2 separate regions of the Homo sapiens genome follow, and region 2 is linked to region 1. Evidence: promoter capture Hi-C in human tissues and cell types (Jung and others, 2019). All regions are on one chromosome and are shown on one strand. The core of a region is centred on a gene start or on the middle of the fragment in contact, and the rest is flanking DNA. Distances in the headings are between cores, read along the strand shown. Region 1 holds the start of PAPOLB (poly(A) polymerase beta). Region 2 overlaps RBAK-RBAKDN (RBAK-RBAKDN readthrough).

Region 1 (5,646 bases), core at 1,685-4,184:
CATTTCATTTTAAAGGGTTACAGCTACCTCATAGGGACTGAGCTAGATGTACTTTTATGCTTTCTCTGAAGTACAGTACACCGCTGCACAATGGTATCCAATTTTAAGATTAATAGTGAAGAAACCTCTTCAGGGAAAAATAAAATTCACCAATTTGAAAAATCTAAAATTAGTTCTACTTTCTAATAAAAAATATAAAGTGCCTCATCAGTATAAGGAATTCTGATACCAGTTTGTATTGCATATTTTCCCAACAATGCATCAAGCATAAATCCAGTCCAGATGTCAGTCACGGGTACAAACATAGCTGAAAGGTTTTTTCATTTTAAGGGCAGTAGTCCTTTGAAATAGTTAATGTAACTGTTGCTGATACATTAATAACAGTACCTCTAGCTGTCACATACTAATGTGGACTTCTGATCAAGACTGGCTCAGTAAAGGAAGTTACCAAATGAGCCTCAATCTATTTCAAGTCATATCTAGTCCCGTACCCCTCATTCTCCTTCCTTAGTATTTGAAGACAACAGGTTCAGTTGGCAGATATTGTTCATGGACCCTTGAGGTTGTTTTTAACCATTCAACCTGTTTTACTGAATTCTTGATAACAGGAATTGGATTTGCAGGGAGAACAGGGATACCGGAAAGATCTATACTGATGTTCCCTGAGAGGCCAATAGAGAAGATGCTGTCTGAATTTTTCTAATGGAGTTGTACTTGTCTTTGTATTGAGTTTCTCCTCTTCCGTTTTGGTTTTCTTGGTCCTTTCTTCTTTATGAGGCAAGAATATCCTCTAGACTCCAACTATAGGATTAGATATGTTTGTTGCTGAGTTTCCTGAAGGTCTGGATGGCTTATGAGACATGTTGAAGAAACAACTCTGGCGACCATGGCCTTTGGTGATGGAGAAATGGCAGGCTGAGAGACAGCGTGAGGAATACTTTCGTTTAATGCAACCCCTGAACTTTCATTGGTATTCACCTGTTGCAAGGAAAATTCAGTAGCCTGTATGTTAGCCACAGATGCTGTCATTACAGCCAAGGCAGGACTGTTTCTACCCTGAGAACTGCTAATCAATGGGCCTGTCTTCATAGTGCTAGTAGATGAAGGCACAGACATGCTGTTTTCACAGCCTGCAGACAAGTCAAAGCTGCTGTCGTTCAAATCTGTCAATCTTCTACCTTCTGTTGAGTGTGCTTTCTTGTCCTGAAGCACATGATGAGGCAGCAGCTGGTGAAGTTCCTTTCTTCTTAAATGCATTGCAGTAATTTTCATACCCATCTCAAACATCTTACTATTCACTGCTTGCCTATAAACAGTATCTGTGAAAGACTGGATATCATAGGTGAGATCAATGCTGAGAATTTCAGAATTATCTGGCTTTTTTAGCCCTAACCCAATCACCCACATTGTACGAAATTCTTCCATATCAGGATTTTCTTTGGGTGCTGGAAATGACTGTGGATTCACATGTGCCAGTGTAATAAATTCATTCTTCTCCAAGCTCCCAACCAGGATTCGGATCTTTGATTCCACCAAGCCCACCCATTCTAAATGTTGTTTTTCTGTTGATGCACTTGCCAGAAGTACAATATAATGCTTGTACTTTTGAAAGAAGCTTGGAGCTTCAAAGAGTTTGGACCACTCTGCCTTACTTAGCAAAATCTCGTGTGTGATAGCAAGCCCCTGTTTAAACTCCTCAATCATGACCATCCTGGTTGAAATAGACACGTTGTATGTGGAGTTCTGCTGTGGGTATGCTGGTGTGATGATAGGCATAAGATGGTACCTATCACTGGGATTTACTCTTGGGTCCCATACAGGCAAATTAAGATTCCGTTCTTCAGGCTCCTTCAGTAACACTGGGTTTGGCCATTCCCATTCTGAAAATACCAAGAAGAATTTCCGTACAAGAGTTGACGCTACTGCATTTGGATAAAGCTGACAAGTTCTTGCTACTAGCATGGCCCAGGAAACACCTCCGAGGAAACCTAATATATTGGAATAGATATTGTGGCACTTGGCCCACAGTTTGATGGCTCTCAGAGTCAGCCTGAAGTTGTCAATGTTTGGCACTAGATGTAAAATTTCATCGGTTACCCGGCAACCATTAAGGCTTCTTATGCATCTAATGTCTAAATTTTTAAGTAGACTGTCATCTCTTAAGTCCAAATCTTCTGGAATAGTCTGTAGTGCTAATCTTGCAAATAAAATATCAATCTCTATCCCATCAAAACACAGTTTGATAACTGGCACAAATGCCTCCTCGACAGCCCTTAAATCTTTCACTTCCTCCTGTAGTTTCAGTTTAGCATAGAATGAGGTGAAAAAGTCGCTTCGATCCACATGACTTGGTGCAACGCACAAGGCGTCAATATCTGCGCCTTTCGTATGTACTCCTAATCTGTAAGAGCCAAACGTAAAAATCTTTCCTCCAACGTTTTCAATTACAGACTGGGGAAGACTCTTGCTTTCACTGATTTCGCGTATCCATTCCTTTACCAGATTATTTAATTTTTCCAAAACTAAAATCCTGCGCTGCAGTTCCTCTTCCTCTTCGAAGACCCCGAAGGGCCTGAGGGTTTCTATTAGCCTCTGGGTGAGGAGGCAGTCCGTCTCCTTGGGGACCGCTAGACTGATAGGCGAGGAGACGCCGTAGCGATTCGGCGGCGGCGCCGGCTGCGGTGGTCCCTGGGTTGTCACCGGAAACGGCATCATCTTTCAGCGCCCGCCCCGCCAGGGCACGTCCCCCACCACCGCGACCTTCGCGGCCGCCGCCCGGGTCATGATCCGCTGAGGCGGAAGGGCAGGGCTTCTAGCTGCCCTGGTCCGACCCCACTCCCACTCCCGCTGCGCGCCCGCCGCTTCAGGAGCTTCTCCTCCTTCCCCTCAGCCCCAACATGGCGCCAGACCCCTCAGCGGCTGCGTTCCAGAACCTACCGTACACGCGCGGGCGCCTGCGCACCCGCCGCCAGCGCGAGGGCTCACGGGAGCCACAGCGTTCTGGGCTGGGGCTCCTACCGCTGCGCGGGGGGCTATACATGGGGGTGGGCAGGATTCACGTTGTTGATGACCGGCCAAACTCAACCCTTTATTGCCACTATTTTACATATTTGCCCAACTTTACCCATCTAATTCTTTGCTCTCCAAGTCCCTTGACATCGCAGATGTGCATCCTTTTTGGGGGCACCCTCAGCACTCTTCACCCTAGCGTGCACCCTTTGGAAGTCCAAAGACCCCTTCGTGGTGGGAACCCGCGGTGGAAAGCAGCTTCTGTCTTGTTTCTTGGGCCGTTGCTGGACATTGGTTTAGCTGGGGCAGCATTTCGAGGTCGACATTTGTGTTCTGGCCATGCTTTAAGGGCGCGATACTGCTGTCCTCTGGTTCCCGTTGAGAATTCCGCAGCTAGGTGAACTACTGCTCGTCTGTCTTTTCTTATGGCAGCTATAAAAGTGTCTGTCCCTAGTGCCCTGTGATCCCACCACTGTGTGTCCAGGCATAGATTTCTCTTTAATAATCTTACCCAGGCTGGGCGCAGTGGCTCACGCCTGTAATCCCAGCACTATGGGAGGCCGAGGCGGGCAGATCACCTGAGGTCAGGAGTTGGAGACCAGCCTCAACATGGAGAAACCCCGTCACTACTAAAAATACAAAATTAGCCGGGCGTGGTGGTGCATGCCTGTAATCCCAGCTACTCGGGAGGCTGAGGCAGGAGAATTGCTTGAACCTGAGAGGCAGAGGTTGCGGTGAGCCAAGATCACACCATTGCACTCCAGCCTGGGCAACAAGAGTGAAACTCTGTCTCAAAAAAAAAAATAAAATTAAAAATAAAAATAAAAAATAAAAAATATAATCTTACCCAGGATACACTATGATTCCCGAATCAGAAGTCATGCTTTTTATGATCTCCAGAAGCTTCTTGGGCACTTCCTGGGAATATGTTCTCCCACTTGTCTCCTGATTCTCTTCATCTAGACACGTTGTCAACCTTCTCACTCTGTCCTCCATGTCTCTTAAGCCGTGTGTCTTTCTGGGTGATGCCAGATTACCTCCAAGTCCTCTCTTCAGTTGTATTTAGTCTGCTGTTTAAGCATCATTGAAATATCCACTTAAATACTTATATTTCACTATTTTGTTCTTTTCCAAGCTTCTCTGCCTTTTAGATGGCATTCTGTTCTTTCATGTTTTTCCCCCTACCTTTTATTTCTTTAAACGTGTTAAACATACTTATTTAGTACTCTATAACTAATTATTCTAATTCCGAATGCTCTTGAGAAACTGTATAGTTTGTTGTTATCCAAGAACTCAGAGTGGTATTACCTCTTGGGTCTTGTAATTTTGGATTGTGAGCTCATTTCTGGTGAAGCTTGGAATGCCTGTGTAGACGCTGTGTCCTTCCAAAGAGGATTTGCTTTGTTTCCAGTAGATGTTCTTGTACACTATAGAATTGCAGTCAGTGTAATTTCTTATCCAGGGATTATCCACAACATCTAGATGGTGCAACTTTGAACCCCAAATACATGTAAGAGGACATGTGGTTTTCATTTTTAAGGAACAGTCTTTAGTTTTTCCCACCCAAGTCAAGAGAGAGAACTTCCTTTGCCATCTCCTTTCACCAGGTAGCAGATTCTTCTTACTCCATTTTTTCACTCAATGTGTCACCCTTTGAGGATTCCAATTGTATTTGGAGGGGTCTCAATTCTAACTCCCTACCTTTTAAGGTCCCAAGAGCTTTCTGTCTCTTCTTGGACAGCTGCTAAACTTAAGTTTCTCAGTTTCCAAGACTGGCCAATGCCTCTAGGGCGGTTCTAGTTTCAGAATCAGCTACAATCCTGAGGTTTCAAGGTATCCCTTTTTCTTCCAGCCCTAGAGACTTCCTTTATTTTCCTGGGTACTCAGCTATGCATTCAAAAAAATGATTTCTTATATTTATCCAACATTTCCAGGCACTTTACATAGAAAGATTTTCTGGGATAATTAATCCCATATATTGCCAGAAATATAAATACCTTCTTTTTAATCCATTTCAACATTGGCTTACATGCTCAAAAACAGCTATCAGCAAGGTCTTTGGTGACCTCCATGTTGCCCAACCCATGACCCCAATGATTTCCATCTTCTTTGACCTATGGTAGCTTCATCTTGGCCTCTGCGACACCATACTCTTTGTCTTCCACATGTCTGGCCAGTCCTCAGTCAAATTTGCTGATTCCTCCTCCTTTACTTGACCTCTAAATGTTGGGAGTTCCTCCAGTTTCCATTCTAAGCCCTCATTTCTCCTCACTGCATGTACATTCACTGCCTGGTTAATCTGCTGATTTCCACAGCTTTAAATACCACTTACTTACAGATTAATTCATATTTTAATCAGACTCTCTTCTGAACTCCAGATCCATATTATCTGACTGCCTGTGGTTGCCACCTATATTTGGATGCCTTTAACTTAACATAGTTTAAAGAGAACTCTAACTCATCCTCCCACAGTTTGCTTCTCTCTCAGTAGTCTCCATTTTAGGAAATGACATCTCTTTCTACCCAACTCTTGATACAAGAAACCTGGGAGTCATTCTGGACACCTCCCTGTTTTGCATCCTCAACATCCAATTCATTTACAAGTTCTGTTGATTTCACCTCCAGAATATACTTAAA
Region 2 (5,646 bases), core at 1,907-4,406, 190 kb after region 1:
TTTTGAACATGTGGAATAGAATGATGAACTCTCTCAGTGCTCTGTGTGGGTTGTAAACTCTGTCAATTCTGGGCCAGTTTTGATGGACTGATTCTTTTCTTCCTTATGGTTGTAATTTCCTGCCCATTTTCCCATCTCGCAACTCTTACACCTCACATCTGTCTCTGTTCTTCTTCCCTGCTCTGTGGCCTGGAAACACTCAAGGCAGAAGTTGATTGGTTCACCTTGTTTATTTCCCATCACTCATAGATAACTCTACTGCCTGATAATCAGTGCCTTGAAAACCATTGCTTCAGCCCGGGCGTGGTGGCTCATACCTGTAATCACAGCACTTTGGGAGGCCAAGGAGGGCAGATCACAAGGTCAGGAGTTTGAGACCAGCCTGGCCAACATAGTGAAACCCCTTCTATACTAAAAATACAAAAATTAGCCAGGCATGCTGGTACACGCCTGTAATCCCAGCTACTTGGGAGACTGAGGCAGGAGAATCGCTGGAACCCGGGAGACGGAGGTTGCAGTGAGCCAAGATTGTGCCATTGCACTCCAGCCTAGAAGACAAGAGTGAGACTTTGCCTCAAAAAAAAAAAAAAAAACCATTGCTTCATATATGTTCTCCGTTTTATTTTTCTTTCTGTTTTTGATTTTGTTGTTGCTGCTGTTCTTTGTTATGTGCCATTTCAGGTTGGAGGGTATATCCAGTACCTGTTAGTTTATCACAACTGAGGGCAGAAGTCCTCATGTCTCTCTCTATATATATTTTTTCTAATATATATATTTTTTTCTTTGTAGAGACAGGGTCTTGCTATGTTGCCAAGGCTGGTCTCAAACTCCTGGCCTCAAGCAGTCCTTCTGCCTCAGTTTCCTGAGTGCTGGGATTACAGGCATGAGCCACTGCACCTGGCCTGGATCCAGTTTTGTCCATGTCCAAATGGTGTTTTTCCCTGAGCTGTTTTTGATTTTCTTCCACCTCATATGAACTGTAGTGTCAGCTTATCTAGTTCCAGGAAAAAGCTTTTTGGTATTTTTACTGGGGTTGCATATTTATAAAGTAATTTAGGGTAACTGACTTACCCTAGGTAGGGTAAGTTGACCTTAATAATACAACTAATTTTTTTTGTTTGTTTGTTTTTTAGTAGAGATGGGGGTTTCACCATGTTGACCAGGCTGGTCTTGAACTCCTGACCTCGGGTGATCTGCCCGCCTCGGCCTCCCAAAGTGTTGAGATTACAGGCGTGAGCCACCGTGCCCGAGCACTTTTACTTTTTCTTAGTTATATTCCTCTAATTGTTTTATCTTCTCTAATTGTAGATAATGAGCATTTTATTAATACCTTGTTCTTGATCTTAGTAGGAAGGTATGTAGTTTTTCCCTGTTAAGTAAAATCCTGACTTTTGGACCGAGAAGACTGAGGCATAAATGTGTGTGTGTGTGTGTGTGTGTGTGTGTGTGTGCGTGCGTGTATATACACACAAACTGTATATATATGTGCTTGTGTGTAATTGAAATACATATGTCACATATATATCATACATACTATTGCATATTAGGGTGCAATATTTATATTTGTGTATATACATGTTATTGATGTTAATGAAGTATCCATCAGTTTCTATTTTCTTTAGTTTGTTTTTTTAAATCAGCTTTTTCTGTCAAGCTTTTTCAGGTATCTTCACGGATACAAGATTTTTCTTCTTTGCTGTGTTATAGTGGCTTATCATATTAATAGATTTCCAAATATTAAACTAGTCTATATTATTGGAATAAGTCCCATTTGGCTATTGTATATTATGTTTTTAATCTGGTACTGGATTTTGTTTGATTATGTTTCATTTTGGGTTTTTGTATTGATGTAAGTGGTATTGGCATGTAATTTTATGTTATTTATTGGTTGATCAGTCTTCTAACCCCTACTACCTCCTTGCCTTCTGGACTAACTTAACCCAGAAGGTTATTACTCTCTCTCGGTGATTTTATCAGCTCCTGTGGCCTGACTGTGGATAAGCTTGGATGTTCTGCTTTAGTTTCTCAGCCCACAGCCTAGCGGCCCTGCCTCTGCTATCTCTTGGGATCTACATGGTCCTAGCTGTATCACTGGATTTGAACCCCTTGTTGATATGTTCTTTATAAATAATAGGATAATGCAGCCTGCTTACTGGGCACTTCCTTTTTCTAAACTACAAGTTTGGGCAGGGCGTGCTGGCTCAAGCCTGTAATCCCAACACTTTGGGAGGCCAAGGCAGGTGGATTGCTGGAGCCCAGGAGTTTTGCATTTTTCTTTTTTTTTTTTTTTTTTTTTGAGACAAGGTCTCACTCTGTTGCCTAGGCTGGAGTGCAGTGTTGCATTCACAGCTCACTGCAGCCTTGACCTCCCAGGCTCAAGTGATCCTCCTGCCTTAGCCTCCCAAGTAGCTAGAACTACAGGCGTGTGCCATGATGCCCAGCCAATTTTTTTTTTTTAATTTATTTTTAGCAGAGATGAGGTCTTACTATGTTGCCCAAGCTGGTCTCGAACTCCTGAGCTCAAACGATCTTCCCATCTTGGCCTCCCAAAGTGCTAGGATTATAGGCATGAGCCACCATGCCCAGCCCCAACCACTTAAAAATTGAAGCTGCTTCCCGTTTGCCATTGGTACTTTGTACACCTCATCATATTCTTCTTCCCCTTCATCCCATAGAATGCACAATTCATCTTTAAAGACTTCAAGTTAACTGAGTCTGTGAAGCCTAATCTGATGGCATAAAATTAAAATAATTTGATCCTCTTTTGTTAAATCATTCTGCACCTTGTCTGCATTACTCTAATAACAGCTTTGGGCATTCATTCATTTAACGAATATTTATTGCTCCAAGATTGAGATGTTTGAGATAAAACTCAGCCATGCAGATAGCCAGAGGCCACTGGCTATGAGAATAAAAGAGCCAAAAGAACAAGGAGCTGAAACTAGGTGAGAGCCCCAGAGCAGTGAGTTAGGAGGAAGAGGACCAGGAGCTGAGTGGTGGGCACTCCAACATGAAGAGGTCCAGGGCAAGGGGAGGGCCTGGCAGCAAGGAAGACTAAAAGAAGTGACAAGGAGTAAAATGCTTGTGTTTGTTTACATGTTTATCTCCTTTTTAGGTTGTTCACTTTGGGAGCAGGCATGGTGTTTCACTCATCTCATGTCCCCAAAGCTCAGCTAGTTCACTTGCAAAATAGGAGCTCAGTTGTGTTTTGGGTTTTTATTTTTGTGGGGCAATATATATATATTTTTTATATATATTATATATATTTATATATATTATATATTTTATATATTATGTATTATAACCCCAAAGGATATGTGTTTCCAATATGATTTCCCTTCCATAATCTGTAACATAAAATAAGGTATACAATGTTTATGGTTAACTTTACCGGTGGGCTTTGTAAAACGTTATCCCCCTATCCCTTTTCCGTATCTCCCAATTCTGATCATGTTGCCATTACAGGGGCCAGTGTCATTCAAAGATGTGGCTGTGGATTTCACCCAGGAGGAGTGGCAGCAGCTGGACCCTGATGAGAAGATAACTTACAGGGATGTGATGTTGGAGAACTATAGCCATCTAGTTTCTGTGGGTGAGAATAGCTTGCTTTCTGAATGCTCTCAGTTGAATGGGGTTTTATCCTTGAGTTTGAAGAAATAAGTGATGACACCATTTAATTCCTTGTGGGCACTAGCTGGAGTGTTTATATTATTATTCATTGAAAGGTTCTAACTTTGATAAGGTAAAAAATGGAGCACTTCTGTTATGCAGCTTATGAGGTGGCAACATCTTGTACTTCAGAGATTCTGAAGCCAAGCAGCTTCCCCAAGTCCTCCTTCTTTTCCCATTAACAGGATATGATACCACCAAGCCAAACGTCATCATTAAGTTGGAGCAGGGAGAGGAGCCGTGGATAATGGGAGGTGAATTTCCATGTCAACATAGTCCAGGTAAGTTAGTAGCGTATCAAAGGTTAAAAAATGCTCATCCCAGACCTTTGGGAGAGACTAAAGAGTTGTTTATATGTATTCAGTACCCTCAGTAACACCTCCCAACCCCCAAATATCACTTTCCTTCCCGCACACATACATGAACTCTTTTGTTGATTTTACATTTGATTTACATTGGTAGGGATTTTTTCATTCTAACCGGTACTGGAGACCCATTCACTTCCTCTTTCTCCAGCATTATTGGTAACTTATTTACTCCCTTGCCATTACAGAATTGTTTTGGGTTTGTTTGTTTGTTTGTTTGTTTGTTTTGGAGACAGAATCTTGTTCTGTCACCCAAGCTGGTGTGCAGTGGTATGATCTCAGCTCACTGCAACCACCACCTCACAGGTTCAAGCGATTCTCCTTCCTCAGCCTCCCAAGTAGCTGGGATTACAGGCACATGCCACCACGCCTGGCTAATTTTTATATTTTTAGTAGACACAGGGTTTCACCATGTTGACCACACTGGTCTTGAACTCCTGGCCTCAAGTGATCTGCCCACCTCAGCCTCCCAAAGTGCTGAGATTACAGTCCTGAGGCTCCCGGCCTTACAGAATTGTTTTGTTTTGGGGCATTCAGAAGTCTGACATAAAAATCAACTTGAGACTTTTATGTTCATTCCTTTTATCTTCCATTTTCTTTCCTTCCTTGCTTTAAAAATACCTTGGACTTATTTTCTGCCCTCGATTTTATTTACTTCTTTAGGCATTCAGATACCAAAACCTCATCCTCCACCTATGCTTGTGAACTGAGTCACAGCTTGTGGTGTCTGTTATTTCCCAAAGTCCATGCTCAGTTGATGTGACGCTATAGCACTCCCTCAGCCTTCGTCTCTTTCCCCACTGCTCATGACCCGTCTGTGTGTTCATTTCCCCTTCCCCATAACTGGAATCATGCTCTGTCCATAGTAGACATTCAGGAAGTGTGAATTTCATAAGTGAATGTCGGTTCCTTTTCTTGCCTTTTCAGGACTGTCCCCCTAGGACCTGTTTTCCACTTTTTTGGTTTTCTTTGTATCCCTTAAAAGAGTTTATCTAATCTCACCTTCTAAGACCTTTTTTCCTGTGTATTTTTGCAGCTTGCCTCCAAATTGATACGTCTGACACTTTTAACCTGGAGTCTAGTTGAATATTTTACTTGACAACATAGCAGTTACCAGGGAGATAGTTCACTTCCTTCTTTCTCAGAATGTCTGATGATAAACTGTGCACATTCCAAAATCATGAATTCTGTCTACCTTCCTCACCTCCCAGTATTTGATTGTGCTAGTCTTGTCTCCATGGTTTGTGTTCTTTGTCTTCTGTGAAATGCCTGGCAGAGCGTCAGCACATTCTGTTTCTTTCGACATTCGTGTTCAGTATTCTCCCATACCTGGATTTCAGTGGATCCATCTTCCATTCAAATGATCATTGTCCTTTTCCTTCATCTGCATTTTACTTGCCCACATAATACATATTTTCCCTCCCTTTCTTCCTCTCCTCCCTCTCTCCCTTCCTTCATTCCTTCCTTCCATTTTGAGACAGAGTCTCACTCTTGTCGCCCAGGCTGGAGTGCAATGGCATGATCTCGGCTCACTGCAGCCTCCCCCTCCCAGGTTCAAGCGATTCCCCTGCCTCAGCCTCCCAAAGTAGCTGGGATTACAGGCGCACGCCAC

Evidence for each region. The method cuts DNA at HindIII sites, captures the fragments that hold promoters and counts their contacts. A contact is called where the count stands out against the background at its distance.
Region 2: a contact is called between a fragment that was not itself captured here and the fragment with the promoter of PAPOLB in region 1, in 1 of the 25 tissues and cell types used here (dorsolateral prefrontal cortex).

What each region holds. Positions count from the first base shown.
Region 1 is chr7:4,859,096-4,864,741 of GRCh38, forward strand. PAPOLB (poly(A) polymerase beta) reads right to left here and starts at 2,935. Exons shown (of 1, transcript NM_020144.5): 1 at 1-2,935. The coding sequence starts at 2,715. The coding sequence ends at 802. The region is part of intron 2 of RADIL (Rap associating with DIL domain); the gene reads right to left. RefSeq lists an enhancer at 2,178-2,790. The HindIII fragment of the contact is 5,879 bases long and covers 713-5,646 here.
Region 2 is chr7:5,053,830-5,059,475 of GRCh38, forward strand. It overlaps RBAK-RBAKDN (RBAK-RBAKDN readthrough), which reads left to right. Exons shown (of 6, transcript NM_001204513.3): 3 at 3,466-3,592; 4 at 3,855-3,950. It overlaps RBAK (RB associated KRAB zinc finger), which reads left to right. Exons shown (of 5, transcript NM_021163.4): 3 at 3,466-3,592; 4 at 3,855-3,950. Among named protein-coding and RNA genes, the nearest start is that of RBAK-RBAKDN, 11 kb to the left of the region's middle. The HindIII fragment of the contact is 6,513 bases long and covers 1-5,646 here.